Linked DNA regions of Homo sapiens: regions 2, 3, 4, 5 and 6 are each linked to region 1. Evidence: promoter capture Hi-C in 16 types of primary human blood cells and fetal thymus (Javierre and others, 2016). All regions are on one chromosome and are shown on one strand. Each heading gives the region's core, a stretch centred on a gene start or on the middle of the fragment in contact. The rest is flanking DNA. Distances are from core to core; before and after follow the strand shown. Region 1 holds the start of SUGP2 (SURP and G-patch domain containing 2). Region 2 holds the start of FKBP8 (FKBP prolyl isomerase 8). Region 3 holds the start of REX1BD (required for excision 1-B domain containing). Region 4 overlaps GATAD2A (GATA zinc finger domain containing 2A). Region 5 overlaps KLHL26 (kelch like family member 26). Region 6 overlaps MAU2 (MAU2 sister chromatid cohesion factor).

Region 1 (4,879 bases), core at 1,620-4,119:
ACGTTTATGTAAAAATGCAGATTTGGCCTGGCTCCGTGGCTCATGCCTGTAATCCCAGCATTTTGGGAGGCTGACACCGGTGGATCACCTGAGGTCAGGAATTCGAGACCAGCCTGACCAACATGGCGAAACCCCGTCTCTACTAAAAATATAAAAATTAACTGGGCGTGGTAGTGGGCGCCTGTAATCCTAGCTACTCAGGAGGCTGAGGCAAGAGAATTGCTTGAACCCGGGAGGTGGAGGTTGCAGTGAGCCAAGATTGCGCCATTGCACTCCAGCCTGGGCGACAGAGCGAGACTCTATCTCAAAAAATAAAACAAAAAACAAGAAACAAAACCTCAGATTCATGAGTCGGACTGAGGCATAAATGACTATTCCTCTACCTGCCCTGTACCCCATATAAATCGTGTATTCTGTGAAAGGCTGACCAAAGACTCAAAAGAAAGCAATCATTTGTCTCTACCTGTGACCATCTTACACATATTCATTTATATCTCACGTCTCCCTAAAATGTATAAAAGCAAGCTGTGCCCCAACCACCTTGGGTACATGTTGTCAGGACCTCCTGAGGCTGTGTCACAGACATGTCCTTAACCTTGGCAAAATAAGCTTTCTAACTGATTGACACCTGTCTCAAATACTTCGGATTCTCAGTCCTCTGTGGAGCTTCTGCCAGCCCTTCCAGGTGGCTGCCTTTCCTGGCCACTCAGAGAGCCCACACTCTCTGGCTTCACTCCCCAACCCACAACCCCTCCCTTCCACCCACCCCTGAGCTGACTGAGTTGGGAAGGTCTGGCTCTGTGACCACCCCTGACCTGAGTCCTCCAAGGTCCCCTAGATCTGGTACAGGGCTGAGTTGGAGGAGGAAAGTACAGATTTGGAACACATAAGATGGTGCCTGGAGATGGCCAAGTAAGAATTACCTGGAGAACAGCCTAGGCTAAAAGGGGGAAGCAGCATTACCAGTCCCTATTATCCATCAGGGCATGCTGAGGGTAAAACAGAAGATGAGTAAGGCCCCTAACTGGCAGCCAGTTTCCTTCTCTCAGCCAGGAATCTGCTCATCAAGAAAACTGTGCTGTCCAGGTGCGGTGGCTCAGGCCTATAATCCCAGCGCTTTGGGAGTCTGAGGCGGGTAGATCACTTGAGGTCAGGAGTTTGAGAACAGCCTGGCCAACATAGCAAAATCCTGTCTCTACTGAAAATACAAAAAATTAGCCAGGGCCGGGCACGGTGGCTCACGCCTGTAATCCCAGCACTTTGGGAGGCCGAAGCGGGCGGATCATGAGGTCAGGAGATCAAGACCATCCTGGCTAACACGGTGAAACCCCGTCTCTACTAAAAAAATACAAAAAAACTAGCCGGGCGTGGTGGCGGGTGCCTGTATTTCCAGCTACTCGGGAGGCTGAGGCAGGAGAATGGCCTGAACCCAGGAGACGGAGCTTGCAGTGAGCTGAGATTGCGCCACTGCACTCCAGCCTGGGTGACAGAACGAGACTCCGTCTCAAAAAAAAAAAAAAAGGCCAGGCAAGATAGTGCACACCGGTAATCCCAGCTACTCAGGAGGCTGAGGCAGGAGATCGCTTGAACTCCTTTTGACTCCGTTTCAAAAAAAAAAAAAATACAAAATTTAGCCAGGTGCGGTGTTGCGCACCTGTAGTCCCAGCTACTCGGGAGGCTGAGGCAGGGGAAGCCCTTGAACCCGGGAGGTGGAGGTTGCAGTGAGTCAAGATCATGCCACTACACTCTAGCCTGGGCGACAGAGAAAGACTCCGTCTCAAAAGAAAATTAAACGTGTGCCATGACATGCTGGGGACTCTAAAAGACTCCATCCACATGTCCCTCTACCAGCCACACCCACTCTGGTTCAAACACCAGCCTCCCCTAAGGGCGGCGTCACCTGCCACTCCCAGAGCCTAGACTCCACCTCACTCACGTGCTCAAAGCCCGGTAGTGGCTTCCCAACCCTCTCAGAACAAAACCCAGCCTCCTTATCCGCACCTTCTCTATCTAAGCCTTCCAAGTTCCTCTTCCCCGCCTTTCTCATCCTTCCCAGCACTCAAGAGACAGCCTTCAAAACCACTTCTAGATAAAGAGCAGCCCTGCTTTCCCGTCCCATCACTCTGTTATTATTTGCACACCATTACCTGTATCTAGAGCAACATCGTTCACTCATTTATTTGTACCCTGTAGCCTCCTTGTCCCCACTGCCTAGGACGGGGCCCGACACGCAGCAGGCACTCAGTGCACAGGTGCTGAATGAATAAATAAAATGAATGAAAATAAAGCGAATGCCAGGGAAGCCGAGGATTTTGTCCCCAGGCGGCTTCTGTAAAATTCTTTCATTTTTTTTTTCCCCCCAAACCACGTACCCGAGGGTCGCGCCAGCCCGACCCTGCGGCACCCCCACTCCCCACTCCGCGCGGGACAGGCCTCGGCAGCCGCAGCGTCTCACCCGGTCTTCGCGGCCACGTGGGGAAAGGTGGGGCGCGCGGTTGTCACCCAGGGAGCCGCCTCTAGCCCCTTCCGGCCGCCGTACGCGCGCAGGCGCTGTGGCGCCCCTAGGCTTGGCCTCCCAGAGACTCGCGGACGCTCACGATAACCAAGGACGACCGCGAACCAAGGTAAAGCCAACGAGGCCACCTCGTGCGCGACGGAGGCGTCTTTGCCGCCCCTTCCGGGACGCTCACGGTGGTCGCCGCCCCCAGCAGGGAAATGTTTTGCCTCCAGAGCGTCCGCCCAGAAGAAGCGGACAGCGCGCTTGCGCAAGAGAGCCGGGCCGCGGCGGCCCGCGCCTGCGCACCAGGACTCGGCGGCGGCTTGCGCCTGCGCGGCGCGGCGCTGCGGAGACCGTTGGTTCATTTGCATGTCCCCGCCTCGCGCGGCGGCGGCGGCGGGTGAGGAGCCTGAGGCGGCGGCGGGGGTGGCTCCGCGCGCGGTGGTCTCGGGGTGAGGCCCGGGCCCTGGCGTCGTCGGTGGGTGGCTCCCGGGGTGGGAAGCTCGGGCTCGGCCTTGGGGGCCCGCCCCGGGCTCCGTGATGGCGTCGCAGGCTCGGCCCTCTGGCTGCGGCGGCGGCCGCGTCCCCGCCGGGTTGGCCTGGGTGGCCGGCTGCGGCCTCCCGGGCCCGGCGCCCCCATTTCCTCGCCCGCAGAGGCCGGGAGACGGCGGGCCGCGTCCACAAAGGCTCATTGGTTCAGTCGTTCATTCATTCCTCCCGAACTCGGAGCGGCCCCCGCTCGGGAGGAGATAACGGCGCCCAGCGCTGCATCGGGCCCTTGCCCTCTTTAGAACCGGTTCAGCCCCCACACCAGCCCCTTTACTGGCTGCCCATTCCATAGGTGGGGAAACGGAAGCACAGAAAGCTTAGAATCGTGTGATTTGAACCTGGGTCACCTGACCCGGGAACCCTGCCCTTTGCCAGCAGAGAACAAGGGGGCGCCCCGGGAAAAGGGCTGAAGGATGGGACTGGGGGAGGCGGGTGGGGGAGGCGGTGATCGTGATGGGAAATGGACCCTACGGGTTGTCTCTTGAAGTTGGAGGTTTTGCGAAGCGGGATATCTTGATGGTTAAGGATGCAGCCCCTGGACCCCAAAATGTTGCTTAATCTTTTTACTCATTCTTCGGGGCTTTGGATGCACGAATACCCTTTTTGCCAGGTTCAAATCTGGGCTGTCTGGTCTTGAATGGGTCGTTGAGTCTGTCTCCCTTTGCCTCCTCACCCTAATGTCATTCATAACAGGACCCGCCTCTTCAGTGGGTGGTTGGGAGATCGCGCAAGGACCCAGCGCAGAATGAACTGTCACTAGTTCATTGTCATTGGTTGGGGGTCCCGCCACTCACTGTCAAGAGGCTTCTTTTAGAAGGGAAGGAAGTTCTCAGAGCCTCTGTGCCCTGCTGAGTCTGTGAATGGGAAAAGAGTGATCCTGGGCCAGGCGCAGTGGCTCACGGCCTGGAATCCCAGCACTTTGGGAGGCCGAAGCGGGCGAATCACTTGAGGTCAGGAATTCAAGACCAGCCTGGCCAACATGGTGAAACTCCATCTCTACCTAAAATATAAAAATTAGTCGGATGCGGTGGCGGACTCCTGTAATCCCAGCTACTCAGGAGGCTGAGGCAGGAGAATTGCTTGAGTCCAGGAGGCGGAGGTTGCAGTTAGCCGAGATCATGCCACTGCACTCCAGCCTGGGCAACAGGGAGAGTCTCAAAAAAAGGAAGAAAAAAAAAAAAAAGATTGATCTCTTCTTTCCTAACCACGATTTGCGAGGGTTGTGGTCCCACCCTTCCTACTCTGTTATGCTCAGTTATGTGTGTTGGTTGACACCTTCCTCCAGCAGATAGAACTGCTTTCACAGAGCTGCTTTTAATGGATTCCAAGGAGATGGGCCCAGAGAAGGTTTGTCTTGCTCCTTTTCAGCCAGCACACACCTGTGAACTTCGTGAGGGCAGAGACCCCCTTAAAAGAGTCCAGACAAGGTGGGCAGATTGCTTGAGGTCAGGAGTTCGAGACCAGCCTGGCCAACCTAGCAAAACCCTGTCTCTACTTAAAAAAAAAAAAAAAAAAGATAAATAAAAAGGGTCCAGCTTGCCTCTGAAGTACCATGCGAGGATTATGGATTACTGCCTCCTTACTTCGAGGATTAAGTGAAATAGAGCAGGTTCTGTGAGCACGCATTTTTTTTTTCTTTGAGACAGTCTCGCTCTGTCCCCCAGTCTGGAGGGCAGTGGCATGATCTCGGCTCACTGCAACCTCTGTCTCCCTGGTTCAAGCAATTCCCATGCCTCAGCCTCCTGAGTATTTGGGATTACAGGCACGTGCCACCATGCCTGGTGAAATTTTTTTTTTTTTTTTTTTGAGACGGAGTCTCACTCTGTTACCCAT
Region 2 (4,879 bases), core at 2,380-4,879, 490 kb after region 1:
ACTTTGATCATAACTCACTGTAGCCTCGACCTCCTGGGTTCAAGGGATCCCTCCCACCTCAGCCTCCCATTTAGCTGGGACTACATTTTTAAATTTTCTGTAGAGGCCAGGTGTGACGGCTCATGCCTGTAATCCCAGCACTTTGGGAGGCCAAGGCAGGTGGATCACAAGGTCAGAAGTTCAAGACCAGCCTGGCCAACATAGCGGAACCCCCCCATCTCTACTAAAAATACAAAAAATTAGGCAGGCATGGTGGCAGGCGCCTGTAATCCCAGCTACTAGGAAGGCTGAGGCAGGAGAATTGCTTCAACCTGGGAGGCAGAGGTTGCAGTGAGCCGAGATCACACCATTGCACTCCAGCCTCACTAGACTCTGTCTCAAAAAAAAAATTAGTCATGTGTCATGGCAGGCGCCTGTAATCCCAGCTACTTAGGAGGCTGAGGCAGGAGAATCGCTTGAACCTGGGAGTCAGAGGTTGCAGTGAGCCCAGATCGTTCCACTGCACTCTACGTGGGAGACAGAGGGAGACTGTGTCTCCAAATTAATTAATTAATATTCTGTAGAGGCAGGCTCTCACTACGTTACCCAGGCTTAGGTTGCCCAGGCTGGAGTACGGTGACGTGATCTTGGCTCGCTGCAACATCTGCCTCCCGGGTTCAAGCGATTCTCCTGCCTCAACCTCCCAAGTAGCTGGGATTACAGGCATGTGCCACCGCACCCGGCTAATTTCTGTATTTTTCGCAGAGACAGGTTTCACCATGTTGGCCAGGCTGGTCTCGAACTCTTGACTTCAGGTGAACCATCTGCCTCAGCCTCCCAAAGGCTGTTTTTGAGACTGGGTCTTGCTCACTGCAACTTCCACCCCTGGGGTTCAAGCAGTCCTCATGCCTCAGCCACCCCAGTATCTGAGATTACAGGCATGCACCACCATACCCGGCTAATTTTTGTATTTTTAGTAGAGACGGGGTTTCACCATGTTGGCCAGGCTGGTCTAGATTTCCTGACCTCAGGTGATCCACCCACCTCGGCCTCCCAAAGTGCTGGGATTACTGGCATAAGCCACCGCACCCAGCCCTCCAGGTGATTTCTTACATAGCTCTGCTATGCTACCACCTTTAACCTCCCTTCCTTCCTCAGTGATTTCCGTGAGACCCCACCACTACCTTTTGTGGCAGGCACTGTGCAAGCCTCAGAGCTATAACAATGAGAAAGAACAAAGCCTTCCCAGACTTTGGGGCTCTGCCAGTGTAGAGGGCAAGGCAGAGGTAAATCAAAGCAGTGGCTCACGCCTATAATCCCAACAGTTTGGGAGGCCAAAGTGGGAGGATTGCTTGAGCCCAGGAGTTCGAGACCAGCCTGGGCAACATGGGGAAACCCCATCTCTACAAAAAATATAAACATTGGGCCGGGCGCGATGGCTCACGCCTGTAATTTCAGCACTTTGGGAGGCCGAGGTGGGCAGATCACAAGGTCAGGAGATCGAGACTATCCTGGCTAACACGATGAAACGCTGACTCTACTAAAAATACAAAAAATTAGTCGGGCATGGTGGCAGGCGCCTGTAGTCCCAGCTACTTGGGAGGCTGAGGCAGGAGAATGGTGTGAACCTGGGAGGCGGAGCTTGCAGTGAGCCGAGATTGCGCCACTGCACTCTAGCCTGGGCTACACAGCGAGACTCTGTCTCAAAAAAAAAAAAAAAAATTAGCTGGACATGATGGTGCACCTGTGGGCCCAGCTACTCAGGAGGCTGAGGCAGGAGGATTGCGTGAGCCCAGGAGATAGACATGGTTGCAGTGATCTGAGATCGTGCCACTGCACTCCAGCCTGGGTTTCAAAGTAAGACCCTATCTCAAAAAAAAAAAGGCAGAGATATAAGTAAACTAGTTTGGGAAGCCGAGGCAGGCAGATCATGAGGTCAGGAGTTCCAGACCATCCTGGCCAACATGGTGAAACCCTGTCTCTACTAAAAATATACAAATTAGCTGGGCATGGTGGCGGGTGCCTGTAGTCCCAGCTACTCAGGAGGCTGAAGCAGGAGAATCGTTGGAACTTAGGAGGTGGATGTTGCAGTGAGCCGAGATCGCGCCACTGCACTCCAGCCTGGCGACAGAGAGAGACTCTGTCTCAAAAAAAAAAGAGAAAGAAAAAAAAAAAAAAGGCCAGGCACGATGGCTCATGCCTGTAATCTTTGGTACATCGAGGTGGGCGGATCACGTGAGGTCGGGAGTTTGAGACCAGCCTGACCAACATGAAGAAATCCCGTGTCTACTAAAAATACAAAGTTAGCCAGGCATGGTGGTGCATGCCTCTACTCCCAGCTACTTGGAAGGCTGAGGCAGGAGAATCGCTTGAACCTGGGAGGCAGCGGTTGCGGTGAGCTGAGATTGCGCCATTGCACTCCAGCTTGGGCAACAAGAGTGAAACTTCTTCTCAAAAAACAAAAACAAACAAACAAACAAAAAACCCAAGTAAACTAGTTATGAAGTGGACGTTCATCAACTTCATTGTGCCAAGACAGCTAAAGGGGGCACCTGGTCTTGCCTTGGGGAGGTTGGGAGGGCTTCCTGTAGGAGGTAACCTGGGAACTCCAACCTTAGAAGTGATCTCCAAAAAGCCAGTTACCACCTCCATGATAGCTACCTCCAAAAGCTGGTGTCTGACTCATCCATCCATCCATCCATCCATCCATCCATCCATCCATCCACCTACCCATTTATTGAGCTTCTATAGATGCCAGGCATGGTTCAAGGAGGTGCTGGGTACAAATCAGGTAAAAATCTCTGCCAGGATGAAGCAGAGTGAGGGATGGTCCCTCCAACCACAAGCAAAATAATGACAAGATAATTCTGGAAGGAGTAACTGCTAGGAAGGAAATAAAACTGAGTGAAGGAGGGAGAAGTGTCCCGGTTTCAAAACAAGATCCACAAAAACTTAGCTAATCAAGGATGCCACCTTCTTCCCGAGCCATGGGGACCTTATCACCCTCCAGCAGACAGTGCATAGAGGAGGAACTCCTCCCAGTGGCCCTGCTGGCTCAGTCGCCTGCGCAGCAGTAATCGAGCGCCTCCAGTATGCACCAGGCAACCTTCTAGACATTAAACTGTGTGGGGGATGGGAGGGAGGTTTCTGTATGCCTTTGGGCACGTCACTCCTCCTCAGGCCCTCAGGTTCACTTCTGTAACTAAGGCTTCAGGATGGGTCATTCAGCAACCCCAGAGCTGCCCTGCCCGTCAAGCTTGAACTCTTTAAGGAAATAACATTTAGAGTGGACTGTGCCCCCAGCAGCCCCCAAGGTGAGAGTGCATAGATGGGGGTGTTTATCCCCATTTCGCAGATGGTCAGGATGAAGCTCAGAGGAGAGGCAGGAGTCGCACAGGCTGCGCGATACTGACCCGTGTTGGGGTCCAGCCCAGGGTCCCCCGCCCCCGCCCCAGCCCCCGCCCCAGCCCCCGCCCCAGCCCCCGCCCCAGCCCCAGCAGCCGGGAGGCTTCGGTCCCTTTAAGAACGCCCCGCGGGGCCAAGCAGGAAGGGGGAGGTGCCAACGCCCGGGACGGACGTCTGCATGAGCCAACGGGTGCGGCAGTCGCGGCAGCGGCGGCCAATGGGCACGGCAGGGGCGGGGCCAAGCGGCCGAACCTGGTTCCCGAGGCGCGGCGGCCGCGGCTGGGGGCGGGGAGGGGGGCGCAGGACCCCAAGTGGGGGTCCCGGAGCCAGAGGCAAGTGTCCTGGGGTGCTGGGGGCGCCGTGCCGGCCGGGCCGCTGCCCTGGCCTAGGCTGGTCCGGGGGCTAGCGCGCCGGGGGCTGCGGCCGATGGGCGGGGCGAGGGGCCGCGGGGGTGGCGAGCCGGGGGGGCACGGGGGTCGGGGGTGCCCGAGGGGGCGCGGCCGGGCGGGGGTGGCCAGGGATGGGGGTCACTGGGGGCAAAGGGGATCCAGTGGGGGGGTCCCGATGGAGGCGTGCAGGGCCAGGGGCGCCCGAGGCGTGCGGGGGTCGGGTGCCCCAGACTGGTGGCGTCAGACAGGCGTGGGTCGTTGGGGGCCTGGGTCGCGGCTTGACTGAGGGCCCGGCCGGGGCTGTGGGGCGTCAGGAGAGCGTGGGGTGTTATGGGATCGGAAAGGGGGGGGCGTCTGGGGACACTGGAGTGTTTACGGCGAGACGGAGCGGCTGTGGGGGGAGCTGGCCCGTGCTGGGGGCGGTGGTGGTTGGGGTGGGGGGTGGGAGGGGAGGCCGAATTGTGCGGGCGCGGGGAATTATGGGGGTGGGGGCTGGGAGGGTCTCTCAAAGTGGGGCTCCGAGCCCGGGAGGAGCAGGCAGGTGAGGGTTAGGGAGGGGATGCGGCGGGCTGGTTTGATGGCTGTGCCACACTCTTCTGAGCTTGGGGCCTGGGGGACGGAGGGGTTGGTTATTGGTTCAGGAGGTCTGGGGCAAGGAAGAGGCTGTAGAATGTGGTGGGACCTCGACCACTCCTGGAAAGGAGGCTGCTTTGAGGGGGTGGGACCGAGGCCTGATGAGAGGAGGATGGTCTCCTGGGGAAGGATTTGGGCCAGGGTCCCTGATGTTGGGGTTGTGGGGGATAGTGTTAGATTCAGAGTGTGGAAGGAAAAAACGCTTGGGGTTTCTGGGTGATTACAGTTGGTGCTTTTGGGGAGGGTCTCCCCTTTGGAGAAGAGGCTGGAGGTGGGAGGCCCTGGTAAAAGATTCAATTTCCCCCAGTGGCCTTAGAGGCTCTAAAAATGGCTTCCCTAAGGCCTCGGAGGCTGTCCTCTCCACAAAAATCCCAGCACCCTTCGCTCAGCTTATAATCAGGCAAAGCCACAGGGCCTGAAGCCCCAGGTTCAAATCCTCCTTTGGCCTTTGGCTTTCTCTGTGACCTTGGGCA
Region 3 (4,879 bases), core at 1,535-4,034, 450 kb after region 1:
CTCTGGGAATAAGGACAAAACTTGGGAAAAAAATTGGGGATGAACAGCAGAGGGCAAGGTCCGAGAATCCCCAAGTGAAGCCTTAATAGAGGATTGGGGTGGGACAGGAAGGGGTGAGGTCTGTGTATGGGATACTGGGACCACCCCCCAACCAGGGGTGCGTCATGAGAGGAGCCGGCCAGGGTCCTAGAGACACGGCGGGGAAGGGGTGGTGGCCTCACCGTGCCCAGCCGCGTCTGCTCCAGCTCCTGCAGGCTGCGCACGTGGCCGGCGAGCAGCGGCTGCCTGCGAGGCCCGCCCAGCTCTGCTTCCACCGCCAGCACCTCCCGCGAGGCGGCGGCGAAGGCCTGGGTCACCCCGTGCACTGTGCTCCGGTAGCGCGCGAAGTCGTAGTCAGGGCCGCTGCGCAGGTACTGGCGGTGGCCTCTGCGGCATGTGGGGACCCTGAGGCCGCGCCCCCAGGCTCTCAGGCCCTGCACCGGCGCCAACCACCTGAAAGGCCCCCAGGAAGTGTCCCCAGACACCAGAGGGGAGGACTGGTAGGTAGGAAGGACGCTTCCTGACTCCCGCAGGGGAACGCGAGACAGGCCCACCCCTGCTCTTGGGGAGGAGAGAGAAGCCACGAAGAGTGAGTCGTCGGGTAGTGGGGACGTGCTGTGGGGCCTTTTTCGTGAAGGTGAGGACCCGGTGCCCCGAAATCCCCGCCCCATCTGACTCTGCAGCCACACAAGGACCCAGCTCCTCCTCCAGGCACGCCCGCCGAGAACACGCCCACGCCCGGAGCGGGCGGGGGACCGAACCCTGAGCCCCTCCGCGCCCCCACTCACTCCTCCAGTCGGCGGAAGCCCTGCGCGCGCTCAGCCTGCAGCTGGTGGATGCGCTGCACCAGCGTCCGGATCGGGGCGTCTTTCTGCGGGACAGGGGGCACGGCTGGGGCATGAAGCCCGCGCCCCTGGGTCTGCGCCGCCCGCCCCGCGCCCGTTCCCGCTTGGGCCTGGGCTCACCCAGGGCCACGCCGGCTCCTCGCGTCCCCGAGCTTCGGTGGCCTCCTCAGCAGCAGGCACTGCAGGGACCGTAGGCTCCGCCGCGGTCTCGGTGATCATGACTGCGCAGCCCTGGCCAGGCTCCGGAGCAGGCCCTTCCGCTGCGCCCGACGCCCCCTACAGGCCGGGAGGTCCACGGACCCCCTACCCTGCGGCCGGCCAGCCAGAAGGAAGAAAGGGGAACCAAGACCGCGGGCCGCCCAGTCAAGCCCACCCTTCTTGTTCCCGTCCAGGGCCCGCCTCCGATCGTGTTTTTCCTTGATTGTGCGGCTCTGAATACAGAACAGCTGTTAGCCTTGAGTTCGTTCCTATGCTTGTATCTCAACACCGACTTCCACTTGAAGCGGGTACTGAGCGTGGGTTTTGACGTTCAAGAGTGTTAAGTAAGCCTGGGCAACCTAGGGAGGCCCGATCTCTACAGAAAAACCAATTAGCCCGACATGGTGGCTCCCGCCTCCAGTCCCAGCTACTCGGGAGGCTGAGGTGGGAGGATTACATGAGCCCGGGAGTTGGGGGCTGCCATGAGCTATGACCATGCCACTGCACTCCAGCCGGAGCCACAGTGAGTCTGCCTCAAAAAAAGTGCAGTGGCTGGAACTCCACCAACATTAACAGAGATTCACTGGCTCTTCAGAGAATCACAGGGGTGAAGACAAGATTCAGTGACAGGGACGGTGTCAACAGCCCACCGAGTTGAATTGGGTGTCTTGTGTAATAGCCCTGAGCCTGGAGCATAGCAGGGGCCAGAACGACCTCAAAGTACAGAGGAGGCCTTGGAGCTTCCTGCTGGAGGGATACATGGGCTAGACAGAGCTTTGGAAAGCTTCCTCCTCCAGGGGCCCAGCCGGAGGAGCAGGAAGATGCTGGTAGCCTGACTTAGTGAAGAGGGACCAGCTCAGGTATGGGGTGACAGACACCAGCCTTTAAGGGGGAAGGGACTAGGCTGTTAGTGAGTTGGGAGTTTTTCTTGCCGATGGGTTCGTGGTCTCGCTAACTTTGAAGAATGAAGCTGTGGACCTTCGCGGTGTGTGTTACAGATCAAAAAGAGTCCACGGACCAGGAGAGTGAGCAGCAGGGCAGTTTATTGAACAAAGCGAAAGGAAAGCTTCCACATGCTGGAAGGGGACCCGGAAGGGTTGCCGTTGCTGGCTCCGGTGGCTAGGGCTCATATCCCTATGTTACCCCTCCCCTTTCTTTTTGTCCATTGAGAGTGGTTCTTTTTTCAATCCTCCTCTGGAGTGTTTTTTTTTTTTGTTTTTTTTTTTTTTTTTTTTTAGTGAGACAGAGTCTCGCTCTGTCGCCCAGGCTGCAGTGCAATGGCACGATCTCGGCTCACTTCAAGCTCTGCCTCCCGGGTTCACGCCATTCTCCTGCCTCAGCCTCCCCAGTAGCTGGGACCACAGGCGCCCGCCACCACACCCGGCCAATTTTTTGTATTTTTAGTAGAGGCAGGGTTTCACCGGGTTAGCCAGGATGGTCTCAATCTCCTGACCTCGTGATCCGCCCGCCTCGGCCTCCCAAAGTGCTGGGATTACAGGCGTGAGCCACCGCGCCCGGCCTGGAGTGGTTAATTCTGAATCCTTCACTCGATTGGTTAAGAACTCAAAACACTGAGTCACAGGGGTCTTCTGTGAAAGTCCCCAAACCTGCCCAGTAAATCCTGCCAACTCCACCCCTCAGTCCCCTCTCTCAACAGGAGAGCCCAACTGCTGTTGGGGTGTGGGAGGATGACCACTCTAATTGCTTCCTGCTGAATAGGGGCATAGAAGGGGTTCTGTAGCTGAGGTTTCCTCGTGAGAGGTGGTTTGGGTGTCAACGTCCGGGTATGGGCCGGCAGGCTGGTTTAGGGGTCCTTGATAATAGGTGCTGGTTGAAGTCATCTGAGGTTCCATCTGCAGTAACATTTCTAGTTTCATTGATTCTATTCAGGAAGAAACGAAAGGATGAAGGAACTGAAAAGACATGGGCCAAAGGTTACTCCTAGAATAATCATAAGGAAGGGACCTAAAAATGGAAGAAGCCAGTGGAGAACAGGCTGTGAGAACCCTGAGGTAGTTTCGGTTGTCCCACCATGTAGTCTGCTAGCTCTATCCTGAAGTCATTTAATTCCATCTCTCACTATGCCTGATTTATTGACATAAAAACAACATTCCTTGTTCAGAAAAAGGCATGTTCCTCCCCTTTCGGCAGTGAGGAGATTGGAGATCTAGTGCTCACTGGTTCTGGAGAACCACAGCTGCTAATGAGTCTATTTGGTCCTGGATTTGAGTAAGTTGGAGAGAGATTTCATCTAGGCTGTGAGTCCACTTCCTAGGTGGTAGTAAATCCTAAACCAGCCAATAGAGGAAGTAGTGAGATTGCTCTCGGCTGAAGCTTAGCATGAATGGGCACAGCTACTGCCTCTTCTGAAAAGGAATAAGTCACAGGAGGTACTATGTAGGCTAAAGTACAAGTTCCTGTCCAGTTGGTGGGGAGGCAAATATAGAAGGATCTTCCACACACAAAGAAAACTCCTTATCAGGGTTCTATACACCCCTGTAGCTGAAAACTCATAAGGGCTGTGGTCAGTCTAAATTCATTTCTCATTCCCATGATTTGAGGGTTCAGGACAAATGGGCCACTCCTAGCAGTTGGAGCTGAATAGAATTTGCCAAGGACGTATTATGGGGTTCCTGTAAGGCAAACCGGTGGCTAGCTGCATTAAGAAAAACTCTCGGCTGGGTGCAGTGGCTCACGCCTGTAATCCCAGCACTTTCGGAGGCCAAGGCTGGTGGATCACGAGGTCAGGAGATCAAGACCATCCTGGCTAACATGGTGAAACTCCATCTCTACTAAAAATACAAAAAATTAGCTGGGTGTGGTGGTGGGCGCCTGTAGTCCCAGCTACTCGGGAGGCTGAGGCAGGAGAATGGTGCAAACCTGGGAGGCGGAGCTTGCAGTGAGGGAGATCGCGCCACTGCACTCCAGCCTGGGCGACAGAGCGAGACTCCATCTCAAAAACAAAACAAAACAACAACAACAAAAAGAAAAACTCGCGCACCCCAGACAGGAAGCAGGAAGCAATGGGGTTTTTTTAACCCTTTGCCTGTGAGAGAGGAACCAAGTCCCAGGAGGGGGATATCCTGGGCAAAAGGAAGTCTGCCCCAGCAGTAATTGCTTGTTGTTTTGGCCTCTGGTGGGGGAATTATTTGGCTTGGGGTGGTAAATCTTAAGGGATAGGTGACTGAAATAGGGTTTCCAAGGAACTCATGTTTATTTCCACAAAACATTGGGGTGCCAGTAGTCGTACTGTAAGAATTAGAATATTTGAACTCTATATCCAAGGCAAGCTATAGTTGCAGCCAGCCACGTGTCCCACACCTTGTGATCATGGGAACACTTGATGGGAGATACAAAGGAGTGGAGGCGAAGAGAAGGAGGTTATTGTGCCCACAGAACCTATGATTGGGATAGCTGATAGAGCGAATTGTCGGAGAATGGCGGCGGCTGCTTTTAAGGCTGCTTGAGCCCTGTCAGGGAAATTGGACCTATCACTAGGATGAAAAAATCCTGGACCCTTAGAAGTGTTAGCTATGTATGAGGCCTCAGAGCTTTCCACCCATATGTTGAGGGGGGCCGGAACTGCTGTATATAAGGGGGAAATTAGGGTTCATGCAAACCCAACAGGATGAGTTACTCTGATTGGGAAGTGCTTCAAATAAAAACCTGGAGGACATGTTTATAATTCCCTCAAGGTAGGCCGGGCACGGTGGCTCACGCCTGTAATCCCAGCACTTTGGGAGGCTGAGGAGGGCAGATCACGAGGTCAGCAGATCGAGACCACGGTGAAACCCCGT
Region 4 (4,879 bases), core at 898-3,397, 430 kb before region 1:
ACCTTGGTTTTAGAATGGGGACTGCAGACAGCAGAGTCAGACAGAAAAGCCCTCTTTGGACAGCAGGACTACAAAGTATATTTCCTCAGACTAGGAGGCTTTGTCAACAGGAGCAGGCTTGGGTTTTCCCATTTATCTTCCCATTTTAAACGCTGTGAACACCAGATGATCTCTGAAGTCCTCAGGATCCCAACAGTTTGGGTTCCAAAAACGAATTTGACATAAGACTGCAGGCTGGGGTCATCCTGTGGGGTTAGCTGACACGGGAAGGTGAGGAGCCACCAGCTGTCCCTTATGAACAGGCGTGGAGAGACAGGCCCTCCACAGGGAGAAGACTCCAGTGGGCGGTGAGGAGAGAGAGCAACGGGCCACAGAGGAGTTTGTCAGAGGGCCAGCCGGGAAGCTGTGGCCACACCACAGCCCTCAGTGGGTGTCTGGGCATGAACATTCTGGAGAGCTCCAAGGGGAGGGGTGATGCAAGAGCAGGTGCTGGGTCTGAATTTGTCTTTACAGAGAGAAAGGAAGGTTTTGAAGTCAAGAAATAGGTGGTAGATTGGGTCTTATTTTTATTTCAAGCTTTTACCTTAAGAGACTCATAAAAGGTGAATATGAGGAAAGTCACTCTTGAAGTAATCAGTGTTGACTAAGGACAAACCAACAGAGCAAGCCAAAGACCAGCACCAAGTGAACATGGAGTCGAGTGAGCATCCCGTACCCGCTCCGAGGAGGGTGCCCTGGGCTGGGCTCCCAACTCTATCCCTAGCCAAGTGACCAAGGTAGGTGTAGCATTCCTGGCCCTCTGACCTCTAGATCTGAAAAGCAGGGAAGCATAACCAAATGAATAACTCAAGTGTCCCTACAAACCAAAAGCACCGAGTTGGACAGACAGCAGGTGCGTGGGTGGCAAAGGCCTACTGATGGCAGGGGAGCTGATGGAATGTGCCACTCCTTCTCCTGTGAGACCCACACTCTGTGCCACTTGCAGTTGGGACCTGGGGCCCTGGAATGGCCACAACAGCACAGCTGCCAGTGGTGGGTGATGCCCGAGCTGAGCCTACAGCCCTCTCCACAACCCCGCCAAGCTGTTACCAACAGGCCTGGAGTGTGGCCAGCCCCAACCTGGGCACACTGGGCTTGTCTCCAGGTTCCAGCCCCTCCCGCTGGCTCCTCCCACTCACCTGTGTGAGGTGCGCATGTCCACGGGCCCATCGCCCACCAGCCCTTCGCCTCTGCCCATGGCCATGGCCGTGGCCTCTGTTGCCCTCAGCAATCCTTGGGTTGGACCTGCTCCCGGCTCAGGTGTCACCCTCATGTCTCCGTCAGTGTTTAAATCTGAAGCCAACAATCCTCTCTCCATTTTTATTTTCTTGCTCTCCACATCGTCCTCTGTTGGGTCCCGTTCAAGCGCTCGTTTCTGACTCCGTGTTCGGCATGCTTCTTCGGTCATTCTGAACTTGGGAGGGAGGAGAAGACACAACATTTTAACTGGGTGCAATGAAGGTGCCACCTTCTTGGAGACTTTTCAGTGTTGCTTTCAGTGTTTTCCTCCCTATGGGAAGGATGGCAAAAGAATGTACAACAAACGCAGGGCCCAGAAAAGCATCCCCAGGACATTTCATCACTGCCTTGAGGAAGGCTAGGCAGGAGGGGGGTGTCCCCAGCCTCCACTGTGTGGCTGAACATTGGTGGAGCCAAACTACACCCTGCCCTGTTGGGGGCCAGAGGCAGCAGGGTGCTGAACAGGAGCAGTGGAAGGTGGCTGCTTATCAGCAAGGAAAGGCTCAACAGCAAACAGAGGAAAAGTTGTTCTAGATCTCAACTACCTGCCTTTGGGATTTTCAGCACCTGCAATGTCTGGAATCCAGGAGGGCGGTGACTGCACTGTTCCAGGAGCAGGGTCGGGGCCTGGGACTAGCCCTATGCTGTGGTGACTCGAGTTAACCCCAGCTTCTCCCCTTCAGGGAAGGGAGGTCTCCTCACTCCCTGCTCACCTCTGGGGAGTGGGGACTGGGGATCACATTTAACCCTTTGGTTGCCAGTGAGGTACACTTTGAGTAGAGTGAGGCCTGGCCCATCAACGTGCCACTGCCCTGTACCTGCAGCACACACATATCTTGATTTAAAGAAGAAAGAAAAAGAAGAAAAAAACAGCTGAGTCAGTTTTTGATCCCATGACATCACTGGCTCCACATGACCCTTCCCAGGATTCAGTCGGAGAGACAAAGCACTTTCCAGAAAACCAGTCTGAACCGGTTCCAGACAACAGGCTGAAGTGTTGTTAACCCTCACGGAGACAGGACGACAGCACAGCGATGTCTGTCTGCAGGGAGGCGGCTGGCATTCCACAGCAGGGTCTGGGACACTGGCACTCTTAAAGGGGCTGCTCTAATCCCGGCCTCGACGTCCCAACAGGACAGGGCACAGGAATTGAGACAGAGAGAGTCAGGTTCTTAAAAAAGCATCCCAGTGTTTACCAGAGGACAAAAGAGAAATTTAGCAGCTGAGCTCTAGTGGAATTCCCGAAGTGTCACAGTTTTCCATGGGACAGTTGGTGCCCACTTGGGCCCCACAGAGAACCCCAATTCACACCTGTGGCATGCTCTATGCTGAAGCCCTCTGGTCCTATCTGTGTCCTCACAGGCAGGGCACTCATCTTGCCAGAGCCTTAGTTTCCTCACTGGCAAACACCCTGGGGAAGCCTGTCCCAGGTAGAGCCAGGCAGACCGTCTGGAAGCTGGGGGCAGCACAAGGCAACACAGGGGTCCTGTCGCCATCCATGGGACGCACTCCAGAGCTGACTCATCTGCAGCTTCCTTAAAGGAGCCAATTTCACAAATGAGCAATAGCGCAAGGCCCTGCCCAAATGTGCCCCCTCATGCACTCAAACTGAAAGGAAAGAAAGAGACAGCTGCTTCACGCTCCTGGAGCCAGAGGGAAAGCAGGCCGTCTACATGCGTGTTGTGCCAGTGTGGTCCAGCCAGGGCACCCGGGCACCGGCTTGAAACACTGGGGTCTCCTCAAGGCCAGGAAATCCCTGGTGCTTCACACAGGCCCAGAGCAGCTCTGTGCTCCCTACCCTGTCTCACCACCACCCAGGTGCCATGGCTGACCCTTAACATGACCAGGCTGAGGCAGGGAGACTCCGAATCTCAAGGGCACAGGTTTTCAGACTTGCCTCCACCTGTCCCCAGCCCCTCTGGCATCCCAGCCTGCACCTACCACCTATCCCACACCAACTGTGCGGCCTCCGCTGCCCCCGGCCACCCTGTCCACCCCCGCCCCCGCTCCTGCTCAGCTGCCCCTCAGCTCCTCCGTGGAATGGAGCCCAGGTAGAGGTCGAATGTGGAGGTCATGGCCTCACTTCTCTGGGGGAGGTGAGGAATGCTACGGTGTCCCTCTCAGCCCTGAAGTTCTATGGTCTCTGTCCTTCCTTCCTCCGACATGCCTTGCCCATAAACCCCATCTGAACTGCTCACTAACAGGTTGTCTGTCTTGCCTCCCATGAGACCACAGATAAGTCACTGCCCTCAGAGTGTGGGTCCCCTCCTCTCATTTCCCTCACTGTGGGAGGGGTGGGACATTTCTCCTTCAAGCACTGCCTTAGACAGCAGGTATGTGCACTCCCAGGCCCAGGGCAGGGAAAAGCCTGTTTAGGTGAGAGATGAGGGGAGGCCAGGACCTCGGACAAGTAAGGGCCCCACTCTACGGATGAAGCTTCCCAGTCTGGCCTTATAACTACTGTTGGGGATGAGGTCCCCAGGTGGACAGGGAGAATGCACCTCCACCTCCAGGACATAGCACCCTTCCCTGTGACTCAAAGAAACCCCCATGCTCCCCACTCTGCCCCTGTTCCAGCCAGGCAGGGCCCCTCCCAGCACAGCCTCCCACCCTGTAAGCTCTGGGCTCAGTTCCATGAAGCCCATTTGAACCCAAGACCCTGAATGAGTTCTCGAAGCTGCTCCAGCCCACATGGACAAGGTGGAACTGACAGCCAGATCAGGGGGGCCGTGCCTGTGTGGCCTCACTTCGTTCTCACTGGTATAGGACCAGAGGCTACCCAGAGGTTCTGAGAGATGCAGGATGGAGCAGGGCCTCAGGTGCCCAGCAGAGCTGCTCCCTCCAGCCCCAGAGACCTCTCTTGTTGGGCCCCCTGTTGTGGTAGCAGGTCAGGGTCCTCAGCAGAGGGCTGGCTGGCGTGTACTCAAGGTGCACAGCAGCTCACTATGAAGCCTAAGGCCTGGAACTCTGCCAATCCCAGGCCCGGCACTGACGGCTGGCCTCACAGCGCCCGCCTGCCCTATGCCTGTGCCTCCCAGAGGCAGGCCACTGCGGGGCGGGGCCCTGCGGCACCCCTCCCCCACCTCAGGAAGGACAGGCACAGCTGGAGGGGGTGGGGCCAGCCCCCGAGTGCAGGGGGCTCCTTTGGCAGGAGCCTCCTCCACTGCCAAGACCAATGACGCAGGGCCTGCTACTGGCCAATCCTCGGCCACCACAGGACACTTGCTCCTGGGGAGGGCAGGTGCCAGTAAGGAGTGGCTCCTCCCTCCTCGAAGCAAGCGGGACTAGTGCCCCCAGCACAACAGGGCTGGCGGCCACCGCACAGCAAGCACAGACCCAGGAGCAAAGTTGTCAGGAAGAAGAAAGCGCGACAGATGACTCCTGCAAAGAGCAGTGGGGGGTACATTAGAACACTTCCTAAAAGTAGGTGAAGAGGCTAGGTCACCCTGACTGGCAAATGAGGATTCATTTCAAAATTCCCAGTGACAGGGGAGAGTGAGGGGAAGGCAGCTCCGGTGGCGGAAGTTCCAGGCAAGGGTTGTGCGGGAGCTGCCAGTGCATGGAGAGTAGCCCCGTCCTGGGGGCTGAGATCCTCTGCCGG
Region 5 (4,879 bases), core at 1,636-4,135, 390 kb after region 1:
CACTATGTTGGCCAGGCTGGTCTCAAACTCTGGACCTTGTAATCTGCCTGCCTTGGGCTCCCAAAGTGCTGGGATTACAGGAGTGAGCCAAAGCACCCAGCCTAGCCACCACTTCTTATGCAAATGCCTGAAGCTGGCACATCCCTCACCCAGATCCCCCCACCTCACCCCCAGGAACAGCATGACTCAGTGAGCCTGGGCCCTACCCAGGCGTCTCCAGGGAGCGTGGGCCAAAAAGCGTGGATGCCAAAGGCCCATGTCGGAGAGGCTGCAAGGCCAGAAGGTTCCTCCAAAACTCTGCCGGTCAGGTACCTCACAGTGACAGAATTTTAGCTGGGGAGGTGCGACTCCCCAGAGGGTTTGCCTCCCCTTGCGACACCCCAAGTGGCCCAAGCCTCCTTTCCCTCCAAGGAGTCTAGACCCCGCGGCCCGAGCTGGGAGGAGGCCAGCTGGTGAACAAGTGTCCTTTGTGCTTGCAGCAAGGACCCCACCTCCTCTCCGCACACCCCAGCCAGGGCAGCCCCACTCTGTCCATCCCTGAGGTTCGGCTCAGTCATTAATGACCACCTCTACTAGGCAACGGGTTTTTTGTTGATCCCTCGAGATAGGAAGGAAGGAGAATAAGCTTTTCTCTTTCTTTTTTCCCCCTCGGTTGCAGAAGACAGAAGTTGGAACAAACAAGTTATATAACGTTGGGGGCGGTCGGGGGTGGGGGAGCGCAGTCCCTCCTGGGGACAGTTTCTTGAGTTGTGGTACCGCTGGAAGGGCCAGGGGGAAGACAGGAACTGCCCCCGCCCCTGGCCAAAAGACAAAACCTTCGTGGGACAAAAAGGCAGATGCGGGCGTTGCCTGGCAGGCTAGAAAGGCAGCTAGAGACTAAGGCCAGCCCCCACTGCCCCCCAGCAGCCCCACAAGCCTCACTGGAAAGGCAAAAGATCGACCTGATCCCATAGAAGGGAATTCCTACCTGCCAGACTGCAAGCCTCAGAGAGCAATAAGCTTTTGCACACCCCCATCCCTCCCTTCCTCCCTCTCAGCCACGTCTCTGGGACACTTCCTCCTTCTGTGTCATTCATGTTCCAGGCACACAAGAGGGCACAAGAGAGACAGGCTTTCCAACCTCAAGGCACCAGAGAAACACAACAAATAACGTTAGGTGGTGACCAGCATGATCAAGAATATACAACAAGCATGCGCCCCAGCAATTCTGCTCCTAGATGTGTACCCCAAAGGACTGAACATGAGTGTTTAGACAAAAATGTGTACACTCATGTTCATAGCAGCATGATTCATAATAGCCAAAAGGTGGAACCAATCTAAGTGTCCATCAACAGATGAATGGATGATGTGGTGCATCCACACAGTGGAATATTACTCAGCCATAAAAAGGAATGAAGTGCTGATTTAGGCTACAACATGCATGACCCCCAAAGCATCATGCTGAGTGAAAGAAGCCAGACTCAAAAGGCCACATAGTGCATGATTCTACCTATAAAACTTGAAAACGGATAGAGACAGACTGCAGATTGGTGATTGTCAGGGGCTGGGCAATGGAGAATAGGGGGTTAGTGCTAATGAAGATGGGGTCACCTTTTGCGGGGACAAAGATGTTTTGGAACTGGACAGCAGTGATGGTTGCACAATTCTGTGAATGTACTAAATGCCACTGAATTGTTCACTTAAAGTGGGTGAATTTTGTGTTACATATATAGTACCTCAAAAACAAAAAACAAAAATACAGGTTGGGCATAGTGGTTCATGCTTGTAATCCCAGCACTTCGGGAGGCTATGGCAGGAAGATCACTTGAGCCCAGGAGTTCAAGACCAGCCTGGGCAACATAATCAGACCCCATCTTGGCCGGACACAGTGGCTCATGCCTGTAATCGCAGCACTTTAGGAGGCCAAGGTGGGCGGATAACCTGAGGTCAGGAGTTCGAGACCAGCCTGACCAAGATGGAGAAACCGCATCTCTACTAAAAATACAAAATTAGCCAGGCATGGTGGCACATGTCTGTAATCTCAGCTACTCGGGAGGCTGAGGCAGGAGAATCGCTTGAACCCAGGAGGCGGATGTTTTGGTGAACCGAGATCATGCCATTGCACTATAGCCTGGACAACAAGAGCAAAACTCTATCTCAAAAAAAAATAATAATAAGACCCCATCTCTATAAAATAATATATATATTTTTTAAGACAGTCTGGTTCTCTCGCCCAGGTGGGAGCGCAGTGGAGCGATCTCAGCTCACTGCAACCTCTGCCTCCCGGGTTCAAGTGATTCTCTTGCCTCAGCCTCCCGAGTAGCTGGGATTACAGGCACGTGCCACCAATCCTGGCTAATTTTTGTATTTTTAGTAGAGAAGCGGTTTCACCATGTTGGCTAGGCTGGTCTCAAACTCCTGACCTCAAGTGATCTGCCCACCTCGGCCTCCCAAAGTCCTAGGATTACAGGCATGAGCCACCGCGCCCGGCCCAAAACAATTTTTAAAAATTAGTCAGGTGTGGGCTAGGCACAGTGGCTCACGCCTGTAATCCCAACACTTTGGGAGGCCAAGGCAGGTGGATCACGAGGTCAGGAGATCAAGACCACCCTGGCCAACATGGTGAAACCCCGTCTCTATTAAAAATACAAAAATTATTTGGGCGTGGTGGCGTGCACTGGTAATCCCAGCTACTCAGGAGGCTGAGGCAGGAGAATCGCTTAAACCCAGGAGGTGGAGGTTGCAGTGAGTCCAGATTGTGCCACTGCACTCTAGCCTGGGCGACAGAATGAGACAATGTCTCAAAAAAAAAAAAATTAGGTGTGTTAGTAGATGCCTGTAGTCCCAGCTACTCGGGAGGCTGAAGCAGAAGGATAGCTTGAGCCCAGGAGGTCAAGAAGGCTGCAGGTAGCTACGACACTGCATGCCAGCATGGGCGACAGAGTGAGACTCTTCCTCAAACCAAACCAAACAAACAAACAAAAAACCACAAGCCGGGCGCAGTGGCTCACGCCTGTAATCCCAGCACTTTGGGAGGCCCAGGCAGGCAGATCACCTGAGGTCAGGAGTTCCAGACCAGCCTGGCCAACATGGAGAAACCCCACCTCTACTAAAAATACAAAATTAGCCAGGCTTGGTGGCAGGCGCCCGTAATCCCAGCTACTCGGGAGGCTGAGGTAAGAGAATCAGTTGCTTGAGCCCGGGAGGTGGAGGTTGCAGTGACCATGCCACTGCACTCCAGCCTGGGCAACAAAAGCGAAACTCCATCTCAAACACACACACACACACACACACACACACACACACACACACACACTAGGTGACTAGCAAAAGTGTCCTGGGGACTACTTGAGCTTGCATGGTCAGGCAGGTGGCTCTGAGGGGCCAGAACCTTGGAGAGTGGAAGGATGAAGAGGAAGGAGACGTGGGCAGGTTGAGGCGAGGAGGTGGGTCGTGCTCCAGGCCTGGCTGTCCCATTTGCAATAAATGAAGGAACAGACGAACAATGCTACAAAGACTCAATGTCTCAAAATGACTTTTGGGAGAATGTCTTGTACCAATCTCCCTCAAAATATGATCCATTTTCTGCATGCTCCATCTTGCCACATTAGGGGTTCTCCCCACACTAGCACCTGAGGCATGAGATGCCCCTATCAGTTGCTCCAAACAGTGATTTTTCACTAGGATGGAGGATAGGGGAGAATGACAAAGATGTCTTTTAAGAAAGAGGGCCGGGCATGGTGGCTCACGCCGTAATCCCAGCACTTTGGGAGGCTGAGGCGGGCAGATCACAAGGTCAAGAGATCGAGACCAGCCTGACCAACATGGAGAAACCCCGTCTCTACTAAAAATACAAAAATTAGCCGGGTGTGGTGGCACACGCCTGTAATCCCAGCTACTCGGGAGGCTGGGGCAGGAGAATTGCTTGAACCTGGGAGGCAGAGGTTGCAGTGAGCCAAGATCACGCCACTGCACTCTAGCCTGGGCAACAGAGCAAGCCTCCATCTCAAAAAAAAAAAAAAGAAAAAAGAAAAAGAGCCGGGTGTGGTGGCTCATGCCTCTAATCCCAGCACTTTGGGAGCCTGAGGCAGGCAGATCACCTGAGGTCAGGAGTTTGAGACCAGTCTAGCCAACATGGTGAAACCCCGTCTCCACTAAAAATACAAAAATTAGCCGGGTGTGGTAGCATGCACCTGTAATCCCAGCTACTCGGGAGGCTGAGACATGAAAATCGCTTGAACCCAAGAGGTGGAGGTTACAATGAGCTAGGATCGCACCACTGCACTCCAGCCTGGGCAACAAAGCGAGACTCAGTCTTAAAAAAAAAAAAAAAAAAAAGGCAACCCAACTTAAAAATGGCCCAAACATTTGAAAAGACACGTTACCAAAGAGATGAATAGCTAAGAAGCTCATGAAAAACTGTCCAACATCATTAGTTATTAGAGAAATGCAAATTAAAACCAAAATAAGACTGGGAACAGTGGTGTGCACACCTGTAATCCCACTTATTCCAGAGGCTGAGGCCCGAAGATTGCTTGAACCCAGGAGTTCCAGGGTGCAGTGAGCTAGGATCGCACCATCGCACTCCAGCCTGGGCGACAGAGTGAGACCTCATCTCACAAATAAATAAATAAATAAAAACACCAAATGAAGACACCAGCACACACCTATAAGAATGGCTAAAACTAAGGACTGGCCATACCAGGTGTTAGTGAGGATGAGGAGGAGCTGGAACTCTTGAACATTGCTGGTGGGGATGCAAAATGGTACAGCCACTTTGGGAACAAGCTTGGCAGTTTCCTAAAAATTAAAACATGGCCAGTCTCAGTGGCTCACACCTGTAATCCCAGCACTTTGGGAGGCCGAAGCAGGCGGATCCCCTGAGGTCAGGAGTTCAAGA
Region 6 (4,879 bases), core at 1,719-4,218, 310 kb before region 1:
TTGAGCTCAGGAGTTCAAGACCAGTCTGGGTAACATGGAGACCCAGTCTCTACCAAAAATAAAAAAATTAGCTGAGCATGGTGGCACACACCTGTGGCCCCAGCTACTTGGGAGGCTGAGGTGGGAGGATCACTTGAGCCTACAGGGGGTGAAGGTTACCACGAGCTGAGCTGAGATCATGCCACTGCGCTCCAACTTGGGTGACGGAGTGAGACTCGGCCTCAAAAAATAAAATTAAATTAAAAAAAAAGAGGGTCTCACTAGGTTGCCCAGGCTGGTGGTCTTGAACTCCTGGGATCAAGGGATTCTCCCCCATCCACCTCCCAAAGGGATACAAGCAATGAGCCACTGTGCCTGGCCAAAAATATCTTTTTTTTTTTTTTTGAGATGGAGTCTTGCTGTGTTGCCCAGGCTGGAGTGCAGTGGTGGGATCTCGGCTCACTGCAAGCTCCGCCTTCCTGGTTCATGCCATTCTCCTGCCTCAGCCTCCCAAATAGCTGGGACTACAGGCGCCTGCCACCATGCCCGGCTAATTTTTTGTATTTTTAGTAGAGACGGGGTTTCACCGTGTTAGCCAGGATGGTCTCGATCTCCTGACCTTGTGATCTGCCCGCCTTGGCCTCCCAAAGTGCTGGGATTACAGGCGTGAGCCACCATGCCCGGCCTTTTTTTTTTTGAGATGGAGTCTTGCTCTCACCTAGGCTGGATGGAGTACAATGACACGACCTCGGCTTACTGCAACCTCTCTGCCTCCTGGGTTCAAGCAATTCTCCTGTCTCAGCCTCCAGAATAGCTGGGAGTACAGATGTGTGCCACCACACCTGGCTAATTTTTGTATTTTCAGTAGAGATGAGGTTTCACCATGTTGACCAGGCTGGTCTTGAACTCTTGACCTCAAGTGATCTGCCCACCTCAGCCTCCCAAAGTGCTGGGATTACAGGCATGAGCCACCGTGCCTGTCCCAAAAACATCTTTTTTTTTTTTTTCTGAGACAGAGTCTCACTCTGTTGCCCAGGCTGGAGTGCAGCGGCATGATCTCCGTTCAATGCAACCTCTGCCTCCTGGGTTCAAGTGATTCTCATGCCTCAGCCTCCCGAGTAGCTTGGATTACAGGCGTCCACCACCACGCCCCACTAATTTTTGTATTTTTAGTAAGAGACAGGGTTTCACTATGTTGGCTAGGCTGGTCTTGAACTCCTGACCTCAGGTGATCTGCCCGCCTTGGCCTCCCAAAGTGCTGGGATTACAGGCGTGAGCCATTGTGCCTGCCCAAAATATCTTCTTAAAAAAAAAAAAAAAAAAAAAAAATTCAAGACCTCGTGAGATCAGTGGGTGAGAGTAGGCGAGGAATTGACAGGAAGGACTGAGGCGGCCAGTCCCACCAGAGACTGGCTGACCTTGGGTGGGGACCAATCCCAGGGGCCACTTGTACCCTGAGAGGACACTGTGTTGGCCAAGGATGATATGTTTGGAAGTCCGGCTGAGAGGAGACACCTCTCTGCCCCTCAGGTGTCAACACATAGCATGGGGTGGCTGCGTCATCCCCAGTAGCTCAGGGCAGCTCCTTTGGTTCTGGCTTCAGCTCCCCTGAGCCCTGGGGCTCTGCCTGCCCAATGTCTGAGGCCACACCCATCAGGCCTCCTGCCTTCCCCCCACACCCTCTGTGGGTGCCCAGCTCCTCTGGCCCTGCCTGCCCAGGCTGTGGGAGTCAGGGCATCCACCTAGACGTGCTCTTCGAGGGGCATAGGATGAACAGTGCCATGCCACCCTTAGGGTGCTGGCCGGCTCCTGTCCCTCAGCCAAGCCCCACAGGCACCCAAGCGAGGGGCCCAGGCCAGGGCACTCACCCTGTGGTTTCCCAGCACATAGAAGATGTGGCCCAGAAGCACGAGGGAGCAGGCTGTGAGCCGGTTCAGGTCCTCAGCATTGGACATCTTCAGAGTTTCCCGCAGAAATCGCCTGACAAGGAGAACATGGACGCTGATAACTGCAGGACGGGGCCTGGGCTACCCTGAGCATGGCCCTCACGCCACCCTCTGCCCCACACTTACTTGGCCTCGTTGTAGCGTCCCTGGAAGAAGGAGAAGAGCCCACGCACATAGAAGGCGGCTGCTCGGAGGCAGTGCGAGCTGCAGGGAGAGTGCAGTATCACATGGGGTGGTGATTTTGAGAAGCAGGTTTACAAAACGGCAGTGGGCAGCTGGGGGCTATTTCTGAGAGCCCCCACTGCAGACTGTCTGTGAGGAGGGGTATGGGGTGTCAGGGTGCAAGGGGCAGTCAGGGGCCCCAACCAAAGAGCACGGGGAGCCTAGGCCGTGCGTGGAGTGGTGCCTGGAGCGGCTCACCTGACAGGGAAGCTGTGGTCCGGGTTGATCCTCTCCAGCAGACTGTAGAGCTGCGGGGGAAAGAGCCAGTCAGCACCATTCTGCATCTTCACAGGAGAAAGGTCCCCAAGACACACTGCAGTGCATGGGAATTTCTCTACACCCCCGTCGGGACTGTGGCCTCCAGGCTGAGCCTGGTGACTGACCAGCAAGAGCAGCCTCTGGTGAGAAGGGCCGGGGGCAAGATTTCCACACCCTCAGCCAGCCCTGCCTGTGCCACCCTGTCCTGCAGTAGGTGACAGGGGCCTGGGCGTCCAGAAGGCCTTTGTATGGTCAGAGTGGTGCTGAGGGGCTGGCCTGGCAGTGGGTAGGTTGGCAGGCTGGGGCCCGTGAGCCCTGTGGGCTGTGGGGGTGAGTGGGTGGGATTTCTCTGGAGGTGCAGGGACCCCGGGAGGCTCTGATGGGGGCGTGATCTGACTGATAATTTAGCTGCCCTCTAGCTGCAGAGGCACAGGGGAGCCAAACTCCTCCTCAACACTGCGAGCCCACGTATGGCATCGGATGACTAAGCCGGGGCTGGGCTTTCTTTTTCCTTTGAGACAGGTTCTTGCTCTGTCGCCCAGGCTGGAGTGCAGTGGCTGGATCATGGCTCACTGCAGCCCTCAATCTCCCTAGCTCAAGCAATCCTCCTGCCTCAGTCTCCCGAGTAGTTGGGACCACAGGCCTGCACCCCACCAAGTTTTTAAAAAATTTTTTTGTAGAAATGGGGGTCTCCCTATGTTGCCCAGGCTGGTCTTGAACTCCTGACCTCAAGTGATCCTCCTGCCTTGCTTCCCAAAGTGCTGGGATTACAGGTGTGAGCCAAGCACCTGGCCTGATACACTTTGGAGGTAGACCCCCAGAGGTGAAGGAGATACTAGAACTGAGGGACATCCTAGGGCTGAGGGGGATCCCAGGGCTGAGTGGGCATCCCAGGGCTGAGGAGGGAATCCCAGAGCTGAGGGGGATCCCAGGGCTGAGGAGGGGATCCCGGGGCTGAGGAGGGGATCCCGGGGCTGAGGGGGATCCCAGGGCTGAGTGGGGATCCCAGGGCTAAAAGGGACAGAAGAGGGAACCTAACTCTTATGCAAGCATTGGTTCAGAAGCGCCACGTGAGGGCAACCCTGGGCATCCCCACCCAACACTGCAGCCAGTGAGTGCCCCTGATCCTGCAGGGGCATCAGCACAACCTGGGGACAAGGTGCTCTGGCTGCTGCCCCTTAGGACTGAGCCTCAATGCCTGGCCGACATCCTAGAGCAGACAGCTTGGGCTATAAGACCTTGTCTGTGTGATTCATACAGCTTGGTTTGTTTGTGATAAAGAGAAGTGTTCTGTGGCTATGGGAATGTTTTTGTCCCAGACCTGGCCTCCCCCGGCCATAGCCCGATTCACCTCTGGGTCGCCTTGTGTGTCTGTGTCGGGTGCCGCCCATCCCTCAAAAGGTGAACACCCTGGGGTCTGCTGAGATGTGCTGGTGCCCAGGACAACCCCCTGGTTCCCCAAAAAGAAGAGAACAGAGAGAAAGGATACCGAACATGAAGCATGTCACCTACTACCTCTTGGTGTCTATTTCCTTCCCGTATATACACACTCGCCAGGTTGGTGACGATGAAGGCCCACAGCTCCTGGTGGTTGGTGAGCTGGAATGGGAGGCGGGGACATTAGGGGGCTGGGTCGGGTGCTGTGACCCATGTGGCAGTGTCAGAGCACCCACAATCTCCACGGAGACTACTTTGGAAAAGACTTGTTCTTTTCATTTCAAACACACTTGTTTTGCCTCCTAAGCTCAAGGATAACACAGCTATTACTTCTTCTCATTATAAAACCATCATCTGCGTTACGGGGCAGTTAGAGAACACAGAAGAGGAAAACCAGCCACCCCAATCCTACCCTCAGAACATGTCGGGTTTTGGTCCATTTTCCACTGTCTCTCAGGACTGAGACCTGGTGGACCCTTCCTCCAGGCCACAGCCAGCAACCTGTGGGACCCAGGTGTCCACTGCCATCAAGGCATATGCTGGTCCTAGGCGGGGGTCACTCTTCATAGGGGGAAGTGGGGAAGAGGGGAGCTGTTGTCCCACAGGGGGCCAGCACAGGCCCCGCTCCAGGTAGGTGATGCTGTGTCAGAGACCAGAAATGCTGCTGATGACAGGTGGTGGATGGGCCATGGTCCCTGGCTCTTCTTGGCAAATGAGATCGTTCGTCAAGAGAGGGTCCAATCTATGTAGCTCAAGCCCTGCTCAGACCCTGGTTCCCAGTGGGGCTGGGCAAGAGGTGGAGTGAGCCCAGGAAGCACAGACCCCACCTGCACAGATCCCCTCCTGGCACACACCCAGGAGGCCCAGAGGATCTTCCGAATCAAGCACAGATGCTCTGAGACGTAGCAAGGTGGGAGATGTTTGTTTCAGGGCCACAGGAGGCGTGTGTGTTTGGGGTTAGGGGTGTTGGGGTTGCATCCTGGCTCCATCACTCCTGGGTGGGCCATGAAAAAGAGGCTCTCTTTTGGCCTCGGGGT

Evidence for each region. The method cuts DNA at HindIII sites, captures the fragments that hold promoters and counts their contacts. A CHiCAGO score of 5 or more calls a contact.
Region 2: the fragment with the promoter of FKBP8 here is called in contact with the fragment with the promoter of SUGP2 in region 1 in 1 of 17 cell types (fetal thymus); the score reaches 5.7 in fetal thymus.
Region 3: a fragment that was not itself captured here is called in contact with the fragment with the promoter of SUGP2 in region 1 in 1 of 17 cell types (activated CD4 T cells); the score reaches 5.8 in activated CD4 T cells.
Region 4: a fragment that was not itself captured here is called in contact with the fragment with the promoter of SUGP2 in region 1 in 1 of 17 cell types (erythroblasts); the score reaches 6.4 in erythroblasts.
Region 5: a fragment that was not itself captured here is called in contact with the fragment with the promoter of SUGP2 in region 1 in 2 of 17 cell types (M0 macrophages and monocytes); the score reaches 6.2 in M0 macrophages.
Region 6: a fragment that was not itself captured here is called in contact with the fragment with the promoter of SUGP2 in region 1 in 1 of 17 cell types (M1 macrophages); the score reaches 5.5 in M1 macrophages.

What each region holds. Positions count from the first base shown.
Region 1 is chr19:19,031,507-19,036,385 of GRCh38, reverse strand. SUGP2 (SURP and G-patch domain containing 2) reads left to right here and starts at 2,869. Exons shown (of 11, transcript NM_001017392.5): 1 at 2,869-2,949. It overlaps ARMC6 (armadillo repeat containing 6), which reads right to left and starts at 2,783. Exons shown (of 9, transcript NM_001199196.2): 1 at 2,456-2,783; 2 at 2,148-2,255. The coding sequence starts at 2,176. RefSeq lists silencers at 2,780-3,209, 3,630-3,709 and an enhancer at 3,636-4,137. The HindIII fragment of the contact is 2,753 bases long and covers 612-3,364 here.
Region 2 is chr19:18,542,323-18,547,201 of GRCh38, reverse strand. FKBP8 (FKBP prolyl isomerase 8) reads left to right here and starts at 3,629. Exons shown (of 9, transcript NM_012181.5): 1 at 3,629-3,716. RefSeq lists a silencer at 3,384-3,813. The HindIII fragment of the contact is 8,591 bases long and covers 3,238-4,879 here.
Region 3 is chr19:18,585,026-18,589,904 of GRCh38, reverse strand. REX1BD (required for excision 1-B domain containing) reads right to left here and starts at 1,107. Exons shown (of 5, transcript NM_001100418.2): 1 at 1,005-1,107; 2 at 828-910; 3 at 222-492. The coding sequence starts at 1,103. RefSeq lists a silencer at 760-1,279. The HindIII fragment of the contact is 1,268 bases long and covers 2,151-3,418 here.
Region 4 is chr19:19,461,914-19,466,792 of GRCh38, reverse strand. It overlaps GATAD2A (GATA zinc finger domain containing 2A), which reads right to left. Exons shown (of 12, transcript NM_001384528.1): 2 at 1,179-1,453. The coding sequence starts at 1,447. Among named protein-coding and RNA genes, the nearest start is that of MIR640, 29 kb to the right of the region's middle. RefSeq lists an enhancer at 3,738-4,519. The HindIII fragment of the contact is 3,138 bases long and covers 579-3,716 here.
Region 5 is chr19:18,640,755-18,645,633 of GRCh38, reverse strand. All of the region lies in intron 1 of KLHL26 (kelch like family member 26), which reads right to left. Among named protein-coding and RNA genes, the nearest start is that of KLHL26, 6.2 kb to the right of the region's middle. The HindIII fragment of the contact is 3,768 bases long and covers 1,002-4,769 here.
Region 6 is chr19:19,346,405-19,351,283 of GRCh38, reverse strand. It overlaps MAU2 (MAU2 sister chromatid cohesion factor), which reads right to left. Exons shown (of 19, transcript NM_015329.4): 13 at 3,918-4,004; 14 at 2,346-2,395; 15 at 2,052-2,129; 16 at 1,848-1,959. Among named protein-coding and RNA genes, the nearest start is that of MAU2, 28 kb to the right of the region's middle. RefSeq lists an enhancer at 1,852-2,352. The HindIII fragment of the contact is 7,729 bases long and covers 1-4,879 here.